Linked DNA regions of Homo sapiens: all the other regions are linked to region 5. Evidence: promoter capture Hi-C in 16 types of primary human blood cells and fetal thymus (Javierre and others, 2016). All regions are on one chromosome and are shown on one strand. The core of a region is centred on a gene start or on the middle of the fragment in contact, and the rest is flanking DNA. Distances in the headings are between cores, read along the strand shown. Region 1 overlaps NOD1 (nucleotide binding oligomerization domain containing 1). Region 2 overlaps ZNRF2 (zinc and ring finger 2). Region 3 overlaps ZNRF2 (zinc and ring finger 2). Region 4 overlaps NOD1 (nucleotide binding oligomerization domain containing 1). Region 5 holds the start of SCRN1 (secernin 1).

What was found. Contacts are between HindIII fragments. The CHiCAGO score rates a contact against its expected background, and 5 or more counts as called.
Region 1: a fragment that was not itself captured here is called in contact with the fragment with the promoter of SCRN1 in region 5 in 4 of 17 cell types (monocytes, total B cells, naive B cells and 1 more); the score reaches 9.3 in monocytes.
Region 2: a fragment that was not itself captured here is called in contact with the fragment with the promoter of SCRN1 in region 5 in 1 of 17 cell types (total B cells); the score reaches 5.1 in total B cells.
Region 3: a fragment that was not itself captured here is called in contact with the fragment with the promoter of SCRN1 in region 5 in 1 of 17 cell types (total B cells); the score reaches 8.0 in total B cells.
Region 4: a fragment that was not itself captured here is called in contact with the fragment with the promoter of SCRN1 in region 5 in 1 of 17 cell types (neutrophils); the score reaches 5.6 in neutrophils.

Annotation. Positions count from the first base shown.
Region 1 is chr7:30,430,794-30,433,493 of GRCh38, forward strand. It overlaps NOD1 (nucleotide binding oligomerization domain containing 1), which reads right to left. Exons shown (of 14, transcript NM_006092.4): 12 at 2,303-2,386. Among named protein-coding and RNA genes, the nearest start is that of LINC01176, 41 kb to the left of the region's middle. The HindIII fragment of the contact is 3,695 bases long and covers 1-2,700 here.
Region 2 is chr7:30,308,983-30,311,682 of GRCh38, forward strand. The region is part of intron 1 of ZNRF2 (zinc and ring finger 2); the gene reads left to right. Among named protein-coding and RNA genes, the nearest start is that of MIR550B1, 20 kb to the left of the region's middle. The HindIII fragment of the contact is 2,465 bases long and covers 213-2,677 here.
Region 3 is chr7:30,363,625-30,366,324 of GRCh38, forward strand. It overlaps ZNRF2 (zinc and ring finger 2), which reads left to right. Exons shown (of 5, transcript NM_147128.4): 5 at 2,411-2,700. Among named protein-coding and RNA genes, the nearest start is that of LINC01176, 26 kb to the right of the region's middle. The HindIII fragment of the contact is 156 bases long and covers 1,365-1,520 here.
Region 4 is chr7:30,449,033-30,451,732 of GRCh38, forward strand. NOD1 (nucleotide binding oligomerization domain containing 1) reads right to left here. Exons shown (of 14, transcript NM_006092.4): 6 at 2,184-2,700. Among named protein-coding and RNA genes, the nearest start is that of NOD1, 28 kb to the right of the region's middle. RefSeq lists an enhancer at 494-994. The HindIII fragment of the contact is 1,217 bases long and covers 802-2,018 here.
Region 5 is chr7:29,988,512-29,991,211 of GRCh38, forward strand. SCRN1 (secernin 1) reads right to left here and starts at 1,290. Exons shown (of 8, transcript NM_014766.5): 1 at 1,131-1,290. FKBP14-AS1 (FKBP14 antisense RNA 1) reads left to right here and starts at 145. Exons shown (of 3, transcript NR_187577.1): 1 at 145-282. RefSeq lists silencers at 517-636, 727-996, 1,007-1,056, 1,077-1,416. The HindIII fragment of the contact is 11,019 bases long and covers 1-2,700 here.

The DNA of each region.
Region 1 (2,700 bases), core at 42-2,541, 440 kb after region 5:
TGCCCAAGCACACAGGACCACTGGTGGCTGGGCTGCAGCCAGGATCTGGTGCTCCCAGCCATACCCCACAAGGGCTAGGGCCCCTGGGTTCAATGGCAGAGGTAATGACCTTCCCTTTCAAAAGGGACAAAAATAGAACCAGGAAGTGGGCACCAAGTTCTGTATTCAGTTACACTCTGCTGTTTTCTAGTCACCACTTAGGCTTTTTTGAAGGCAGGGAAGGCAGCCTCCAACCAAGATGTGGCAGGAGGCCAGGAAGGAGAGCACCTAATGCCCCTAAAAAGCCTGCAGTGTCCAGGCACATCCACCCACTCGGGCTGCCTTCACTAGGGCCAGTGCAGGTTGGGAATGCACAAAGCAGCCAAGACTCTCTTTCTGACCCTGTCCTAGCTCTGCTCTCCCTGGAGAGGCTGGCCTGCACTTAGGGAATGGGATCAAATAATTCTGCAGGCTAAAAAGGAAAGAAAAAACAATATGTAGCAGAGTCTAGTCTTTTTGCAGAAATTGACAAGGTGAGTCTGAATTCATAAGAAATGCAAAGAACCCAGAATGGTCTAAACAATCTTGAGAAAGAAGAACAAAGTAGAACTCACACCTCCTGATTTCAAAATGTACTACACAAAGCTACAGCAATGGTCCTGGCATAGGAGAGACATATAAATCAATGGACCAGAACAGAGAATTCAGAAATAAACCCATACATTTATGGTCAATTGATTTTTGACAAGGGTGTCAAGGCCATTCAATAGGAAAAGATAATCTGTTCAACACGTGGTGCTGCCGGGACAGCTGGATATCCACGTGCAAGAGAATGAGGTTAACCCTCACTTTACACTATACAAAAATTAACTCAAAATGGATTGCAGACCTATATGTGAGGGGAAACAACTATAACGCTTAACAGAAAACTTAGGTGGAGTTCTTTGTGATCTTGGATTAGGCAATCATTTCTTAGATAAGACACTGAAAGCACAAGCAACCAAAGAAAAAAATAGATAAATTGGACTTCATCAAAATTAAAAACTATTGGCCAGGTGCAGTGGCTTTTCGCCTGTAATCCCAGCACTTTGGGAGGCTGAGGCAGGTGGATCACCTGAGGTCAGGAGTTCAAGACCAGCCTGGGCCTAAATGGTGAAACCCCATCTCTATTAAAAATACAAAATGAGACAGGCATGGTGGCTGATGCCTGTAATCCCAACTACTCAGGAGGCTGAGGCAGAAGAATCGCTTGAACCCAGGAGGTGGAGGTTGCAGAGAGCTGAGATCATGCCACTGCACTCCTGTCTGGGTGACAAGAGCAAGACTCCATCTCAAAAAAAACAAAAATTAAAAACTGTTGTCCTTTAAAGGTCACTATCAAGAAAGAGGAAAAACTCCACAGAAAGAAAGAAAATACTTGCAAAACCTGTATCTAGTAAAGGTCTAGCACCCAGAATATATAGAGAACCCCTATAACTCAGCATTAGAAGACAAACCCAATTTTAAAATGGGCAAAGGATATGGAGACATTTCTCCAAAGAAGCTATACAGACTCCCAGTAGGCACATAAAAAGACATTCAACATTGTTGTCATCAGGGAAATGCAAATCAAAACCACAATATTACTTCACATCCACTAGTATAACTAGATTTTAAAAGATGGACAATAATAAGTGTTGGTGAGGATGTGGAGAAATTGGAATCCACATACATTGCTGGCGAGAATGTAAAATAGTACATCCACTTTAGAAAACAGTTTGGTGGCTCCTCAAAAAGTTACAGAATTGCCATATGACCCAGAAATTCTATTCCCAGGTATATTCCCAAAAGAGATGAAAACATATGTTCACCCAAAAGCATGAACAGGAGTGTTCACAGTAGCATTACGCATAATAGTCAAAAAGTAGAAACAACCCAAATGTCCCATCAACTGATTAATAAACTGCAAAATTTCCTTAGAGTGAATTATCATTTAGCCATAAAAAGGAATGAAACATGCTAGAACACAGAGACAAAAGGTCACATATTGCTTGATTCCATTTATATGAAATGCCCAGAGTAGGCAAATCCATAGAGACAGAAAGCGGATTAGTGGTTGCCAGGGTCTGGGGAGGAGGACAGGGAGTGACTGCTTAATGGATACCAGGGCTTTTTGGAGTGGGGAGGAGGAGTGAAAATGTTCTAGAATTAGGTGGTGATGGTTGCACTAAAAACCTCTGAATTGTATACTTTAAGAGAGTGAATTTTACAGTATGTAAATTTTATCTCAAAAAATACTTTTGAAAAGTAGCACAGTCTGAAATTGTAAGGCTCTCTGAGTTACCATAAATGCTTTAACGTCTGGTTGACTTTCAACATTTCTGCCAAACTCTCTGCCACTTCATCGTTGAGTTCATTTTGGGTCAGCCTAAGGAAAAAAAAGGAAGTATTTACTCAAGAGAGCCTACTTGGCAGACATTGTTTTAGAGTTCACAGGAGCGGGAGCTCAGCCCAAGGCTCTCCAGCTATGCAGATGATCACTTGCTGAGAACCCAGAAAACAGCCAGGCTCCAAGCCCAGCCTGTCAGCCCCACAGAAGGTCAATGGGACTCATTTTTAATGCAAATCCTGTACCTGGGCTCCTATTTCTTAGCCCAGCTACCTGTAGAGGAGCCCACCCTCCCTCCCCACCTTTGCTGAGCCCTCAGATTTCATGGAAGATGGGGGCCCACGGAAAACAAA
Region 2 (2,700 bases), core at 195-2,694, 320 kb after region 5:
TTTATCTCTTTTCTCTGAATTATTTTAAAGACAGGTCCTAAATATGATGTCTTCACTCCTGTATAAATAAATTCATATATAGAATATGTACCATTTTCTTTACATGATGACATTGTCTTTATTACTGAGGGCCTTTTTACTTTAAAAAGTTAGAATAGGCTTCGTATTAAAACATGTAAAAATTCTAAAATAATGGCAAAGCAGAGTATATAAGCTTTTATTTGGATATCATGAGTGGGACTTTGAACATTCTCTGAACTCTTCTAATGTATTTAGTCAAATAGTTATACTGAATATTTTCTGTTTCAACAATCAGAGTCAAATTTAGATTTCTTAAAGGGATTATTTAACCATTATTTAGGATAAGAATGTGTTTAGAGTGCTCAGAAATTTATCACTTCTCTGATAAAACTCAGCATGTATAATGATGATGTCCTAGTTAAAGACTGGAGTAGACAGCTAAAAGACACCCTGACTCTTTACTCTTAGAAGCAACTCTTTGAAAACCCAGACATACAAACTTTCACATCTGTCAACCTTTTGCTGTGGTATTGTGCAGAGTTCACTATCCTGAATCAGCACATGTCCGTCTAAACTTCCAATAGAATTAAGAGCATTGGAAGTCAGTGTTTATAGTGAATTAAGCAGTGAGTATTTTTTGAATGTGTGTACTATGTTTGGTAATTGTTGGATAAGAAGGAAAGTACAGGAAACTAACCTGTTATTAAGCAGTACAGAAAGGTACCCGGTAATTTTTGTTTTGCATTGTTGTGATTCAGTTAAATGCTAAATTTTGCTGATCAGGAAAGTATAGATATGTAGCATGTAATATATTTTAAAATGTTATGTAATTTATTAAAAATTTGTAAAAAGTTTTAGGGTATGGAAGATAAATGAGGCTGGAGTTGGAAGAAAACAAGATACATGGCTTTGTATATGAATAAAAAGTTGGTATTTGTTTATGTGTATTTTAAACCAGGGAGTGATCAGGTCTGGTTGGTGTTTTGAAGATAGCCTGTGACAACAGTTTGGGGAAGGGTGAGGTCAAGAGCAGATGCATAGAGAGGTTACTGCCATAGTCCAGGAAAAAATAACAGTAGCTACGTTGTGAGGGTGGTGTAGATGTCTAAAGAATTGGTTGAATCTGACAGATACTCAGGAGGTAAAATCTACCAGGTGGGTGATGGCTTGAGAATAAACAGGTGTGGCAGCAGGAAAACAGTGGTAACACTGGCCTGACTGGAACATCTTCATTATTCCTTAGCCCTTTGGTTAGACTAAACTTTTTAATGCAACTTACTGGCAGCTTACAGATGAGTTTTTGTCATAACGAAACTTTTTCAGAATGGTTTTCTTTCCTCTTTTGAAACAAATATTTGGATATTTTGAACAGTTCTTAAAGACTTAATCCAGGGGTTGGCAAATGTCTAGTAAAGGGCCAGATAGTAAATATTTCAGGCTTTGCAGATCTTTTGGTCTCTGTTCCCTCTTTTTGTAGTTTGGGTAAGCCATAGAGACAATACATAAATGAATGTGTGTGGCCACGTTCAATAAAAATTGGTTAGTGGGCACTGAAATTTGAATTTCCTATAATTTTCACATGCCATAGCATTTTCTTTTTTAAAAAATTTTTATTCAGCCATTAAAAAATGTAAAAAGTTCTTGACTCAAGGGCTGTACAAAAATTGACAGTAGGCCACAGTTGGCCTGCAGACCTATGTGGGGTAAACGCACCTGATAGCCATTTTCTTAAGCATACCTTGAGGATGACCCTGTGTGGCATACAGGACTGAATGTGAGTTCCAAGCTAGGGAATCTGAGAGTGGCTAATTAGGAGATTCGTTCCTTGTCTAAGGAGAAACATCTGAGCCCCTGTCCTGTCCTGTCCTGTCCTGTCCTGTCTTGTCCTGTCCTGTGGAACATGAGCTGTACAGGGGATCGAGGTCCCAAGTTTGGGGTTGAAAGAAGGTTGACAGGTGGAGGTTGTTAGTGGGAGGATGCTAACTGAAAATGCTTTATAAACTACATGCCTTTTCCAAGCTGTTGTGGTTCTTCTGTCCAGCCTGCCACCCCTTGACTGTGTGTAAGGTGATTCTTCTGACCAGTCTACTGCTGCGGTACTCTCTGCGCTGTATGTAAGCCTCCAGTAAAACCCCGTGTTTTGTTTGCTGGCTCTGGGTCTTGTTTTTGGCCTCTTGAACTTGGTGCCATTCCCCTTGGAGTCAATAGGGGTCCGGCACAAGAACCTGCACTTTACCAACCCCAGAATTTTACCCCGAGTGTAATTTCTTTACGAGTAACTTTTAAGATAGATAGTAAATAGGCTGTAGGATGTTAATTCCTTTCATTCCTAAAGAGTCATAAATGCTTAAGTCTGTAATGCTATATTTGATTCTTCCATATGTGAATTTGGGGGATGTAGAAACGAACTACCAGCAAACCCAATATAGCTAAGGAAGTATATAATGCAGAGTGAATTTCATGAAGAGCAGTATCTTTAAGAAGGTAACTAACACATACCAATGAAAAGTGGTTTCCATAGGTGAGCCCCAATGGGAAAGAAAGTTAATGACTTTTGTCAGACTAACTGCAGATGTGTTAAGAAAGTTGCGCTGGGTTCTAGGGTAGTTGTAGGAAACTTGGCTTAAATACTTAGGAGTTGGCATGCTACCTGCTAAGCTTGAAAATCCTTGTAGAACC
Region 3 (2,700 bases), core at 193-2,692, 380 kb after region 5:
AAAAATAAAGTTGCATTTTACGACTGAAAAAAAAACTAGTTTTGTTCTACTGATTTAAGTTTTTCATGGTTCTGCATTATCTGAAAATGTTTAGTGAATTGAATGCTGACCTCAATTGGGTATTTTCATAGGGCTTTTTTTTTTCACATTTCACAAGTGCATTAAATTGACATCATTTAGCTTTGAAAAAATAAAGGTTAACTTAATTGCTATCTTCAAATATATGAAAAGCTTTTATGAAAAGACTTGGAGAGATGATATAAAGCATTGGATTGTTATATCAAGGCAGAGCATTTTAGCTAATCCTAGAATTGTTTCAGGAGTGAGAGTCTCTTTGTTCAGGGACTCAAGACAGTAACAGCCGGCTTTTCTAGGAGGCTGAGACTGATGGCAAGGAACTAGACCAGATGACGTCCAGAGGTCTAGTCCTGTGTGGTACCATTTCCTTTTATTTCAATAACTTCTCTTAAATTTGAGAATAAAAGTGTTGAGGTAATAAACACCCTCAAGGAATTCTGTTGCTGTATTGGTGGAAGATGATTTAAGAGTAGCAGATTAGAATATTGACAGAGAAGATTTGAGATAATAGCAGCAATAGCACCTGAAATGAGAACTGCAGTTGAGTGTCATAAGACTACGCATGTGCATGTGAAATGTGGAAGCCTTGGTAGACTGCAGAGTACTAAAAGACTGCCAATTTTAACCTTTCCTGTGAACTTACTTAGATCATGCCTTGACACATTTAAAATATGAATTGAGGCTGAACACTAATTGCTTGAGATAAGGAGTTTGAGGCTGCAGTGAGCTATGAACACACCAGTGCACTCCTGCCTGGGTGACTTAGCAAGTCCCTGTCTAAATAAATAAATAAATAAAATGTGAATGGAAGTAAGAATGCTAGGTAAGAGAAGTATAGTGGTGGAGTGGTATTTTGAATATATGTGCACATATGTTTTTATTTCACCATAGAAAAGGTTTGGAATGCCTTCATTGTCACCTTATGTTTGAGACAAAACGAAACTGTGGCTAAAATTATAGAAGCATTTTAAGGGAAGTACTGAAACTGATGCTAACAAAATGAAATTTTTGTCTTAGTATTTTACATGCCAAAGTAATACATCTAAATCCTTCATCTATAGATAAAATTTGTCTTTTTAGTCTTTCTTAGTGCATTTTGGGCTGCTATAACAAAATACCTTAGATGAGTAATTTATACATGACAGAAATTTAGTGCTCACAGTTCTGGAAGCTGGGAAGTCTAAGATCAAGGTTCCAGCCAGTAGATCTGGTGTCTGATGAGGGCTCATTGCTCATTTATGGCACCTTCTGTGTGTCCTCACGTGGTGGGATAACAGACTCCCTCAAGCTTCTATAAGGATACTAACTGCATTCATGTGGTCAGAGCCCTCATCACCTAATCATGTCCCAAAGGCCCCACCTCTTAATACTATAGCACTGCAGATTAGGTTTTAACATAGCAATTTTGGGAGTACACAAACATTTAGACCATAGAGCTGATAAGCTTTTTTTTTTTTTTTTTTTTTTTTTGGTGAGGTGGAATTATATTGTATAAATTTTTTTTCTTTCATCAGCTAAATTTTTCCTTTAGTGTCACAGTGAGCTTATGGGATATGTGGAGCATACATCTCATCTCATAGCTGAAATGCATATGTCTGTTGGTCTTCAACAACATTTCCATTTTCTTATGTTACATATGAGTGTTATATTTGCTTATTTGTTTGTTTTCGAATATAGAACCTGAATTTGAAACTAGCCTACTACATGGGCAGGGTGAACTCTGTTAATCAGGTGTCTACAGAAATCTGAACCAATGGAGTCTGCTTCTGTGGGTCTTGAAGAGTCATTTTTAAGAGTTTATAGACATGGAATATCTTGACTTGTACATTTTTGCTTCTGTCCTGACTGTTCTTATTTATCAAGTGATAAATTCTTGTATACCTTTTAATAGTCCTAGATTAAAGGTATATGGGTTTGAGGAGGATTCAGTGTTGTTAAAACATTTTGTAAGGCACTGTGTAGCCATAAAGCTCAACGTTTCTGATATCCTTCAGCATAAGAATTTAATAATCAACCCAAAATAGAGAGACATGAATATTTGTGGTCTTGATTAGTTAGAAAATTGCTGTACTTATTTTGGGGTTTTTAGTTATTTGGGAGAAATATTTTAAATCTCCGTGTGTGTGCATTCTTTACTTGCGTGTAGTCCTTATTGTGAAAGGGGGATGACTTTGTTATGTATTTTTTGTGACTAAACTTTAATTGATCCTTCTGTTTCTTAATCTGTTCTTCTCCAGATCACTGATTTTATGAGTTTTCAGAATAGTAAGTAAGGGTATGAAGACTTACAGTAACTAAAGCAATGTTCATGGGGAAATCTATTTTTACACAGGTTTTCTTGTCTTGACAAGATGCTTGAAAAACCAAGAGGATATGAAAATCTGTCTCTGGAGAAACAAAGACGCAGGCATACTCAGCCAGAAATCTGAGTTTTGTGAGACTTGGTAATACAGAGATGGACAATCGTACTGGGGTAAAAAAACCCTGCTGAAGAGAGGACAGTGACCACAGAACTCAGTGTACCAAACATGCATACAAAGGACACACAGGGATTTTGAAAATGCTGCACATCCCTTAATAGTCATCTACATAGGTAATACTGATAAACATTTTGTATTCAGA
Region 4 (2,700 bases), core at 160-2,659, 460 kb after region 5:
GTCACAGCTACTCAACTGTGTAGTGTGAAGCAGCCAGTAAGTAAATAAATGGGTATGGCTGCGTTCCAATAAAACTTTACTTAGAAACACAAGCCTTGGGCCCAATTAGACCCACAAGCTGACCTTGATAACAAGTAAAAGGCTGAACAATTAAAAGCTTGATTTTTAGGCCACATCAAAATGATCAAGTCAGACACTCTGGACCCTTTCCCTCAGAGTCCCCAGCTTGGTGCTGGGAAATAGTGTGTATGTACATGGCATGGCCAGCCCAAGACAGCACAGGCTGCTAGACATTCCCAATATCTATACTTTCTTAGCAATAGATTCCCCCATCTTTTAGCTGGGCCCATCTCATTAAATTCTGCCCATACCATTAAGTTCTGAAATCTAAGCAGCAATATAATTAGTAATAGCCAAGAAGTGTTCTTAAAAGATTGAGGCATGCTCTCAATCTTTGCCCTTCCTTCTTACTGATAGCTAGAGTGTCGACTAGATGGCTGGAGTTTGAGCAGCCCTCTTGGGCCAAGATGGGAAAGCCGGGTAGTGAGGATGGCAGAACAGGAAGGCAGAAGAGAGCCTGGGCTCCGGAGGGTCATGGAGACTCCATACCAGTCCTGAACTACCTACCTCTAGACTTTTACATGAGAGAAATAAGCTTGTAACTCACCAACATTTGGGGTTTTCGCTCTCAGCTAAAACTAATCCTAACTGATGCAGCCAGAGAACTGAGTGTGCTTCCCGTGGTTACCCATATCCTCTGCTTTCCTACAAGCTGTTTTTTCTTGCACTGGTGTGAAGGAAAGCTTCACCTGGGGACAGCAGGAAGGGCAGGGCCACCACACTGGTGTGGAGTTTCCCATTGAAAAGATGGACAGAGGGGTCGGGTGCGGCGGCTCATGCCTGTAACCCCAACATTTTGGAAGGCCGAGGCGGGCGGATCACCTGAGGTCAGGATTTCAAGACCAGCCTGGCCAACATGGGGAAACCCCGTCCTACTAAAAATACAAAAAACTTAGCCGGACATGGTGGCGTGTGCCTGTAATCCCAGCTACTCAGGAGGCTGGGGCAAGAGAATCGCTTGAACCCAGGAGGCGGAGGTTGCAGTGAGCTGAGATCACGCCACTGCACTCCAGCCTGGGCAACAGAGCGGGACTCCATTTGGGGGAGAAAAAAAAAAGATGGACAGAGGGTGGCACTGAGTGTGAGACTGCCTGGGGCTACAGAGGGAGAGTCACTGGCTGAGAGTACAGAGAACAGACTCCAGGTTTTCCAATTCCCAGGCTAGGGCAGCCTTCGACCCCCTGCACCCCATGTCCCCATGCAATTATTTACACTCTGACACTGGTGTGACAGGCACTGGGAGTCAGTTCCAAATCCCTACTGCTTTTTAGAAATGCATGAGTCAAGTAATGGCAAATTTAACCCCCTGTAGAGATTTACAAGGTTTATTTTACATAGGAAATGCTAATAGAAGAAAACAGACTGGGCTCTGTTTCCCGTAAACTATGGAACAGGAAAACAACCACGAGTCAGCATTTTAACTGAGGTCTCTAGCAGTGTGAAGGGCTGCTAGCGTTGATCACAGAAAGTCACCAGTGCCAACTGGCACAAGGTCTGCTTTCTCTGCAGTAATAAAAGCTCCCATATTCCAGAAACTTTTTGAGGGCTATCTCGGAGCCTTACATTAATCTTAAAAGGAAGGTTCTTTATGCATTCTGGCACTGCTATGTCTGAGCTGTGTGACCTAAAGCAAGCTATTAACTTCTCTGTGCCTCTACTTCCTTATCTGCCAAAATAGAGACAATAACAGTACCTAAGTTACAGGGTTGTAAAGAGCATTCCATTAGGTAATATTTGTAATGCACTTCACCCATTCTCAACTAACATTGGTCCCTGTGGCCATAATTGATAGGATTATGAGCATCTTCTTTTTCCAGATGAGGGCGTGGAGGCTCTGAGAGTTAAGCACTTTGTTCAAGGGCACCCAGCTGTGGCTGATCCAGGTCCACCTGCCTCGAAGCTTTGCACCTTGACCTCTGCCCTGCTAAGAAAGAAAAGGTCTGGACATTCCAAGGGCCATGGTCATGAGTCCTGGGGGATCCTGGTCCATGATGCCATTCCCGATGCCCTCCGAGCCTGGCCCGCCCGGCCCACCTGTTGCTCCCCTTGCCTGGCAGCCTCACCTGAGAACAGTGAGGCGGCTGAAGCAGGGCTGCAGCTCCCGCACGCCGTAGTCGTTGAGATTGTTGTTGTCTAGGTCTAGGGCCAGCCGCTTGGGGAAGTGATGCAGGACGAAGGAGAGGGCGCTGCAGTCGGCCGAGCAGGCGTTGCAGTAGGTCAGCTTGAGGTAGTTGGCGCAGATGCCCCTGGCCGCCAGCTGCCCCACCTTCTGGCTCTGTGTCTCGTAGATGCAGCGCAGCATCCAGATGAACGTGGGCATGGCCTGCACCTGGTTGAAGCTTTCGACCTGAACGCGGGGCAGGCTCTTCAGGTAGCCCCGCAGGCTGGAAAACAGGTGTGCCCACAGGGCCTTGCGCTTTCTCCTCAGGGCTGCCGCGGGCACCAGATGCCGCAGGAGTTTCTGTTTGGCTTTGGACAACAGCCCGCACAGGAAGAGGTTGGTGAACTGGAAGTGATCCTTGTTCTTGAAGAGGTCTTCCCGCGCCGGACCACTGCCCTGCAGGCACTGGAACGGGAGGA
Region 5 (2,700 bases), core at 40-2,539:
TCAGGGGGCAGCTGATGGTTGTGGTCTGTGCTGCTTCCGCCTGGCCTATTTTTCATGCTGCCATTTTGAATTAGCATAGGTTTCCTCCGCAACTGATGCATCTTCTAACCAGGCTGGGAACACAACACGCGCACACGCGCACACACACACGCACGCACCCACCCCACCCGGCTGCCGGACGCAAGCGTAAGTCAAGGACTTGCATGCTAGAATCAGACAGAAAATCCAGAAAAGCCACGTTATTTAACAGAACCCTACAAGGTCAGCTTTGAGTCAAAGCAGGTAACAGTTTCCTTCGATGTTTTCATGGACATTTTTATTCCCAAATCCGAGTTCTCGCCAATTCTCTAAAGTTCAAGCGCCCCTCCTGCTTTGCAGACCACATTTCTCTCGGCCCTCGCGAGTGAGGTCGCCAAATACTCGACGCCTCAAGAGCGAGCCGAGGAGGCAGAGGCCGACCAAGCCGGCCTCTCGGCAGCCCCGCCCGGCGCCCCGCGGAGAACGCCCGGGTGCGGCTCGAGGGAAGTTGTGTCAAGTCCCACGCGCGGCCCGCGGAGAACCCAGGGGCGGCCCGCGCGCGTCGGCCTAGCGGGGAGGGCTGCTCCGGGACACGGTGCGGCGGCCGCGGGCGAGTTGGACGCGCTGGCAGAGCCGGGCCGAAGGCGGCGGGCGTCTCCGGGCAGCCATGTTCGCGGCGCCCGCCCGCGCAGCAGGTACGGCACCTCGGGGAAGGTGCCCGGCTCGCCCCAGACCCCAGGGTGGCGAGGCCAGGGGCCCACAGGCACATCCCAGTGGGCAGCAGGTTGGCTGCCAGGAAAAGGAAACCCAGGAAGAGCAGCGCGGGGAACCCGGCTGCGGTGCGGGAGCCCGGGGCCGGCATCCCTCCACTGCACCCCCGCAGTCCCCGAGCCGAGTCACCCCGGCTTCAGGCCGAGGCCACCTCTCCTCTGACCGCCCCCAGGCTCCCAGCCCGCCCGGGCCAGCACCGGGAATCGGCCTGGGGTAACGCTACCCGCGGGTTCGGAGGGACAGCGGGAGGAGATGAAACGCAGGAGGTGGCGATGGCGGGTGGGGTGAAACCGCCGGGAAAGCAGCGCTGCAAACGCCCTGCGCTCCCAGACGCGGCTCACCTGGGGCGGCGGGCTCCGGGCTCCGCTCTCCGCTCTGCGGTGCTGAGGCTGCGGCCGCCGAGGGTGCGGGTGCTGCCGGGTCCGGATTACTGCGGCGACCTCGGGGGCTGCAGCTGCAGTGGCGGAGGCGGCCGCCGGGCGCTTCCCCCTACCCAGACTCCCGGCGCTGGGGCCCGCCGCCCCCCGCAGCAGCTGGCCCGACTCACGTGACCGCGGGCCCACCCTCCGCCTCCCCCACCCCGGCCCCCGGGGCCCCGCCGCACCCCGCGCGTCTGGCTGCACGGGCCGCGGCGCTGCTCACCGTCGAGTAGGGAGGGGGCCTGGGAGCTGGAGGAGCGGCCGAGAGGGCGTATCTCGCCGCAGAAAGTGGCCCCCTCTTTGCTAGATTTTTATTTCTTGGTTGTGGCTCTCAAAAGGGAAAACCCGGGCTTCAAGGAGCCAGGCCCAGCATCCTTTTGGCGCCTCTTCCCGACGTTTGGTTGCTACGTCCGGGCCTCGGCGCCCACACAAGATTTCCCCGGAGAGAAATGTGTCCTGTACCTTGTTGACTCGCACGTCCAAGTCGAGTCCCTGGTTTTAAAAGTGCCGTCCTGTACCATGTTGGTAAGCCAGACCCTGTCCCAGGTACTTGGACATTGTGGCCTAGAGAGGTTAAGTAACTTGCCCAAGGTCACACAGCACGTAACTAAGCCAAGATTCCATATCTGGGTTAATAAAGTTATGTACAGGGACTTGTGTGTTGTGTGTCTGTGTGTGTGTGTGTGTGTGTGTGTTGATGCCAGCGTCAACTCCATCTTTTATAAGTAAATAAGAAAAGACTATCTCAAAAGATATGAAGACGTAATTCAGAGGAAAATAAATGCAATTCTATCCTGGCACACGAAAAGATATTCAGGCTCACTTAACTGCAAATCAAATATGTGGGGTAGCATCTTCCACCAGCCAGATTAACAAAAATCAAAACATTTTGAGTCTTGCTTTGTCGCCCAGTCTGGAATGCAGTGGCAGGATCTCGGCTCACTGCAAACTCCGCCTCCTGCCTCCCGCCTCCCGCCTCCCGCCTCCCGGGTTCAAGCGATTCTCGTGCCTCAGCCTCCCAAGTGGCTGAGACTACAGACCCACGCCACCAGCCTCGCTAATTTTTTTTGATTTTTAGTAGAGATGGGGTTTCACCATGTTGCCCAGGCCGGTCTCAAACTCCTGAGCTTAGGCAATCCGCCTGCCTCTACTATCCAGCTTCCTTTAAAAAGGAGAATGATCTTTATTTGCTAATACAAAACTATTTCCAACCTATACTAACTAAAGAAAAATAAAAAGCTAGGTGCAGAACGTTGTGTGTGTTATTTGTGGGAAGAAAATATATATGTATGTCTGTACTTATTTTTGTAAATGCACAGAGTATCTTTGGAAGAGTACGTAAGAACCTGTAATAGATGCCACCAGGGAGCAGAACTGGGAGACTGGGTGCTGGGGAGAGAAGGAGACTTTTTTCCATGCCCTTTGAATGTTGAGCCTGTGCTTACAGTCTGACACATGAGTAAACGGATAGTGGGGAAGGGCTGAGGAAGTT